Regions from separate parts of the Homo sapiens genome. Here region 2 is linked to region 1. Evidence: promoter capture Hi-C in 16 types of primary human blood cells and fetal thymus (Javierre and others, 2016). All regions are on one chromosome and are shown on one strand. The core of a region is centred on a gene start or on the middle of the fragment in contact, and the rest is flanking DNA. Distances in the headings are between cores, read along the strand shown. Region 1 holds the start of LYAR (Ly1 antibody reactive). Region 2 holds the start of TBC1D14 (TBC1 domain family member 14).

Evidence for each region. Contacts are between HindIII fragments. The CHiCAGO score rates a contact against its expected background, and 5 or more counts as called.
Region 2: a fragment that was not itself captured here is called in contact with the fragment with the promoter of LYAR in region 1 in 1 of 17 cell types (fetal thymus); the score reaches 7.7 in fetal thymus.

The regions. Positions count from the first base shown.
Region 1 is chr4:4,288,221-4,291,435 of GRCh38, reverse strand. LYAR (Ly1 antibody reactive) reads left to right here and starts at 1,282. Exons shown (of 10, transcript NM_017816.3): 1 at 1,282-1,400. ZBTB49 (zinc finger and BTB domain containing 49) reads right to left here and starts at 1,185. Exons shown (of 8, transcript NM_145291.4): 1 at 1,084-1,185. RefSeq lists enhancers at 2,257-2,794, 2,795-3,215. The HindIII fragment of the contact is 4,525 bases long and covers 1-3,215 here.
Region 2 is chr4:6,908,498-6,911,706 of GRCh38, reverse strand. TBC1D14 (TBC1 domain family member 14) reads right to left here and starts at 1,881. Exons shown (of 14, transcript NM_020773.3): 1 at 1,756-1,881. RefSeq lists an enhancer at 1,145-1,214 and a silencer at 1,455-2,514. The HindIII fragment of the contact is 1,491 bases long and covers 885-2,375 here.

The DNA.
Region 1 (3,215 bases), core at 33-2,532:
GTTAAAATGAGGCCATTAAGGTGGGCCCTAATACAACCTGACTGACGTTCTCATAAAGAGGAAATCTGGATGCAAAGAGAGACGCCAGAGATGTGAAAACACAGAGGAAAGACCATGCGAGGACACAGCAAGAAAGCAGCCACGTGCAAGCCAAGGAGAAATGTCTCAGAAGAAACCAAACCTGAAGACACCTTGATCTTGGACTTCTAACCTCCAGAACTGTGAGAAAATAATAAATTTCTGTTGTTTAAGCCACCCAGTATTTTGTTTGCAGTCCTAGCAAACTAATACACCTTCTATTCCAGGCCCAACACTGCTCACTTTCAGAGTGAAACCTTATCACCCATATACACACACCTTGGGAGTGAAGGTTTCTCACAATACTCTGTGCATCCTCCACTCAACTTTCATTCATTCATTTAAGCAACAAACACCTAGTGACCACCACTGTGTGCCAGACCCTGTTTTAAGGGCTGAGAAGAGCTAACGTTTATTGAGTACTTACTAAGTGGCAGCCACTAGTCTAAGCGATTTACATGCACCAACTCATGAAATACGACAAGGTTCCAGGGACGCAGGTGCCGCTATGACATTCGCTTTACAGATGCGGGGCTGAGGCACAAAGAGGCCACACCGTAATGAAACTGAGCTAGGCTGTGGGCTCTGTCGTCTTAAGCGCTACTCTCAACTACAGCGTGGAAGGAAACAGAAGCCGAGAGATGGGCAGCGCGTAGCGGAGGCGGGCCGGGCTGGCTTCCAGCGGGCAAAGCCTGGAGATGAGAGGGCGCGGGTGGGGTTTCCAGGCCGAGGAAGCTGCACCAGGGAGAAGGCCCGGCTCCCAGGCCCGGAACCTGGCCGTCTGGGTCTCAGTCCGCGTCCCCTGTGATGCCCGGCACAGAGCAAATGCTCGCTGACTCTCGCAGGAGCCGCCAACCCCCCGGGTATCCTCGAGTGCCCAGAGACGGGAAGGAGCGGTGGGTCCATGCCCTTCTGGGCCACCTTCGGGCGCCCGGCCTCCCTTCCCTTCCGGGCCATTCCCACCAGCGCCAGCCCCGCACGCCTTCGCAAGGCCGGCCACCTTACCCTCGGAGGCCGCTCTCTGCCCCGCCGCCTACTCTTCACCTGCAGCAGCTGCCTTCAAGGCCACTCGCAGCGATCCGCTGGCCGCGGAATCATCACGACAACGCCCCCTTGGCTTGCCGGAACCGCCTTCCTGCTTCCGTTGGCGTCACTTCCACTGGGGGGGGCGTGGCCGCGGTGCGCAGGCGCGCTGGGTGGTTCAGAAGCGAATTCTGCACCGCGAAGCCTGAGAGGCAGGTAGCTGCGGCGCTGGGCTGGCGGCGGCGAGTCCACGTGCTCCCCGCGGCCGGTTGAAACCGTTGGCGGGCGCTGGCTGAGAGGTGAGGGGTGGTGGCCCAGAGGTCCGACCTGGGAGGCTGGGGCTCAGAGAGTGAGTAGGGGAGGGACGGGATTTCCACCGTCAGCCCCTCTGGGTTACGCATGGAGGAAGGAGTTCCATTCAGATCTCACTCCTGCTCTGGGGAAGTGGCAGGAGTCCTGGACTTAGGGTGACCAACTCGTTTTAGTTTTAAAACTTAAGGTCCGGCGTCCTGGGAACTCCCTCGGGCCTGGCCAAACCAGGACGATTGGTCACCGCCCGACTGGGCTTCAGGCTTGCTGCATGTTGGAGACAGGGCTCTTCTCTGAGCCTTGGGAGATCAGTCCCTAAAGAGGAGGCCTTAGGATGTAGCGGTCCAGAGCACATACTTAGGATCAGAATAACTACTGCGTGTGAATCTGGGTTGCCACTACCTGGATGTGGGATGACCTGGTGTAAGTTTTTTAACCTCTTTGCGCCTCACTTTCCTCATCTGTCATAACATATAGAATCTAACTCGGAGAACTGTGATGAGGATTACATGAGTAGAAATGTGTTAACCTCCTATGAGAGGGCTTGGGTGCTCCATGAATGTTAGGATTCTCTGAAGCACCTACCTCTGAGGAGAGAGGGAGGAGGATGAGGTGGGGTCTGTATTTGCAACCCTGATTTCTAGCAGAGAGGGCCCACTTGGGACTTACTCACACTGTGCCCGAGGCTCCCAGGGTCTAGCATAGTGCCTGACACATGGTAGTTACTCGAGTGAAGGGATGGTGTTTAAAACAGTGCTGGTGATGCCGTGGGTGGGGTAGGAGGCAGAGAGAAATGGCTTCTGTGCCTCAGTTTGCTCATCTGTTTAGTGGAGATAGGTGCACCTACTTCCCAGGGCTTTTGCAAGGAACAAGGGAGAGATTCTCTCCTTGTGAATGTCACCCATTGTAACCCTTGTCAGCCTCATACACAAAGGTTTAGGCAGGATGGTGGACAGAGTATGTTTGTCTGTCCTTCTCTTGCACCATACCCATGGTTTCTCAGAATGCTACCCGTGGAAGGGGCTTGAGTCTTGTCAAGTTGGCCTGACTTCTTGTTTCACAGATGAGATAACTTGAAGTTTATAGAGGCAGTGGCATGCTCAGGGTCACAGTGTTCAGTGGGGGATATCCTGGGGTTGCCAGCTAGGCCCCTCAGGTGGGCTGTTTGAGTGGTAGTGGTGGTAATGATGTGTAGGTCAGTGTCTGCATGTGCATGCAAGAATATTTTAAGAATAGTCAAGGCCAAGCGCAGTGGCCCGTGCCTGTCATCCGAGCACTTTGGGAGGCCGAGGAGGGTGGATCACCTGAGGTCAAGAGTTCACAACCAGCCTGGCCAACATGGTGAAACTCCGTCTCTACTAAAAATACAAAAATTAGCCGGGCATGGTGGCATGTGCCTGTAATCCCAGCTACTGGGGAGGCTGAGGCCGGAGAATCACTTGAACCTGGGAGGCAAAGGCTGCAGTGAGCCGAGATTGCGCCATTGTACTCCAGCCTGGGCAACAGAATGAGACTCCGTCTCAAAAAAAAAAAAAAAAAGAAAAAAAATTGAATAAGTAATACAAAAATATAGAGGGAAGAAGATTTAAAAAAAATCATTCCAATCTCAGAACCAAACCTAAGGGCATGTTATCAGGGAACTTGGTAAAGTAGGCAGCCATGGGGTGAGGAGCCAGAGAAGGTTGGAGTGAATTTATGAACATAAATGGGTGGGTTGATGGTCATATTTAAAGGAGCATGGGTTTAGGAGGGGGCTGGGTATAATAGCATTGATGTGCAAATTAGTAGGTCACAGAGAAACCTTT
Region 2 (3,209 bases), core at 381-2,880, 2.6 Mb before region 1:
ACCAGCTAAGCAATCAACCCAGAGTAGAGGAGGGAAGGTGGAGGCATGAAAGACAGGAATTCACCCACTAAACGGGGAGTGGGGTGGAGACAGCGGACCCAATGCAGAGGAACTGCAGGGGCTAAAGGAACACAGGGGAACAGCAGAAGCCAGGAGAGGCAAAGCCCAAGCTGAATGTGAGAGGGTAGGCTGGGGGCAGACGGTGAAAACTCAGTTGCACAAACAGGAATCAGGCCCAGCTCGGTGCAAAGTGCTGGAACAGCGGAGGATACCGAGGTGAGCAGAGCCTGGCCCAGTAGCCTGCCTCAGTTTGAATCCCATCTCTGACTCTCCCCATGTGGGTGGCTCCCAGCCAGTTACTCTGTCTCCCTTAGTACCAGCTGACACCCTTGATGTTTCCCAAAAGGTGTTTTCGCCCAATGACCCTGAGCACCAAGTTCATGCCAGGCTCTCATTAGGACTGGGGATCTCATTAGGATTGCGGAGCCCACAATCTCAAGGGGTCAAACACACAGCAAAGAAGCAGTAAGAGGGTTGGTCGGAGGGGGGAAGCCATACCCAAACTGAGATATGGGTTGGTACTGGCCAGATAAACTGGGCAACAGGAAGTGTTCTAAGACTGCTGTAAGGACTAGCCCGGTCCAGACAAAGCAACCACCAGTTTCCAACAGGCAACCCACCGCTATAAAAGCTAGGCAAGACAGCAACTAGGTGCCAACATCCTACAATACTGGGGACAAGACAGTGAGCATTTTGTCCCCAAGACACCACCACGACTACCCTCCTCATCTAGCCTCAGTGCGTGAAATAACCAAGGTGATGCCCAGGGACCTCCAGTAGGGGCAAAACGCACCGGTGCCTATAAAACCTTCCCAAGCAAAGCTTCCAATTCCACGCTAGAGAAAACGGCGTCCTATGCAACTTTAGGACAGAAACGACTTCACGTGGCCTGGTCAGGCGCGGTCACCCCGGGGCTCGCAGAGGCTGGCTCTGGAGTCCACAGGGTCATTCTCCTATCCTCCTGACCAGCTGTTCCCATCAGGACCGCAACCCACAGCCTAGAGAGACTCCTGGCGGGAGGGAGACCAGGAGTCCCCGGACTTACTCCTCAAGGCAGCTACCCCGGCCCCGAGACAGTCCCCGGGCCAGGGTCTTCGCGGCCCGGTAATGGGAGGCTCCAAGGCGGAGGCAGAGAGATTCCCTAGCCCAGGGACAGACGGTTCGCGTGGGTGGAGGTCCAAGGAGGTCAGGGCTCCGAGATGAAAGGGGGTTTCGCGGGTCAGGGGCTCCAGGGGTAGAGGGGTCAGAGATGAAAGCGGGGTCAGGGGCTCCAAGGAGGAGGGTCCGCTGCCTGGGGACTGAGGGTCCGAGGTGGAAGGGGGCTCCGGGGTCGGGGTCTGGCGCACCGAGGCGCCTCTTCTCAGGCCGGGAGCCTCGCGTCGGAGTAGGAAAACTTTTCGTCAAGTTCCGTAAAGGAGCGGGACACAGCGCGCGCCTCCGCGAGGGCCGCCGAGTCCCGAGAGTCGCCCCCGCCCCGGAGGCCCCGTAACGGCACCCCGGGCGCCACGCACGCGCTGCCCTGGCGTGCAGGAGCCGCGGCCGCGCGGCGAGGGACACCCAGCAGGACCCGCGCCCGGCGACCTGCCTCGCCCCGGCCGCTCCCCGCCTCGGCCGGCGCTGCAGCAGGTGGCGGCCCCGCGCGCCCTGCCCTCCCTCGCGGCCCGCGGCCCGGCCCTCGCGGGAGGCTCTCAGTACCGGAGTTAGCGCGGCTCCGACGCCATCCCCGGGACCCGTGGGCCCGCAGCCCAGGCCCCGCGGGACCGGCAACTCGCGCGACGAGGACGCCGGGCACGCGGTAGGCAGCGGGTCCGACCCGCAGGTGCGCGCGAGCAGCCCGCGGCGAACAGCGGCGCGCACCCTCGCTTCGCCCCGCCCCCTCGCCCGCCCCCTGGGCACGCCCCCACGCACTTGCGCCCCGCCCCCTGCCGGCCCGCGCCCGTTCTTCCGCCCGTGCCGCCGCGTCTGGAGCTCGGCGCTCGCCCGGCTGTCCCTCTTCCGGGGGCCGCCCGCCGCGGGCCTCCGGAGCGGCGTCGCCGGCCCTTTTTTTTTGCCGGAGAACCAACCGGAGTGGCGAGGAGCTGCCTTGAGCGGGCCTTTGTGCCCGCAGGGCCCCCACGGACATCCGACAGGGGGCCCCTTACCTGGTCGGCTCCACCCGCAGCCATCTTGGAAGTGGGAAGCGGCCGGGAGGGGGAAGGGGCTCGAGCGGGCAGGGCTCAGGCGTAGGGAGCCGAGCGGCGGAGCGCATCGATGGGGCTCCCCTGCCCCGGCCGGTGTGCGGGAGACGGCCCGGGCCCCGCCGCGGAAGGGAAGCTTTGCGTGACACCGGAGCTCAGGCCCCGCCGCGGTGGTCTTGGGAGCGGCGCCGTGGCGTCCTCCCAGCCAGCCTCAGTCTCTTAATCTATAAAGGGCTTTTCCGAACGTTCTCTCTTATCGCGCTGTGACACGGTGCCTGGCGCTGTAGTTCCCAAACTGGTCTGCACTTTAGTATTGCCTGCGGAGCTTTTAATATTCTGAAGCCCAGGCCGATTAAGTCACAGTCTCTGAAGATGAGATGGAAGCATCATCAGTTTGGGAAGCTGTGTAATGTGCACGCGGGTTTGGAAGCCACTGGCCTGGCGTTATCTGCATATTTGGCCTCAACATTGCACAAACTCCAGAGACGGGATCTATGATCAGAGCCATTGTACAAAGCGGGAAACGGGCTCAGAGATGAAGCCCTCCGCCCAAGGACCCGGGTGGGTCAGTAGCTGAGAGGGGCAGAAGCCAGGTTCCCTGCCCCAGAGCCCTCCATGAGCTGGTAGAGAGTATGTGAGGAGCCCCTGTTGACGGGCAGTGGGTCTCCATTCCCCTTCTAGGCTGTGGGTTCCATGAGGAAAGCCGGGCTTATCTTGTTTACTGCTATTTTCCCTGGGCCTGGCAAATAGTTGGTATTTGACGTTATTGGGTTGTCGTTAGACTCTGGGGACTTGAGGGCAAGAGGAGAGACCCAGCGCTGGGAGCCAGAAGTCCTGGATTTCCACTTGGCTTTGGCTCCTGCCAACCAGGAGCCCTGAGGGTTGTCACTGGCAGATAAATTACCAGAGAGGAAACCCGGGAGAGACTGACTGCAGCCCAATCTAAGGGAAGACTCAGCCACTCAGAAAGGT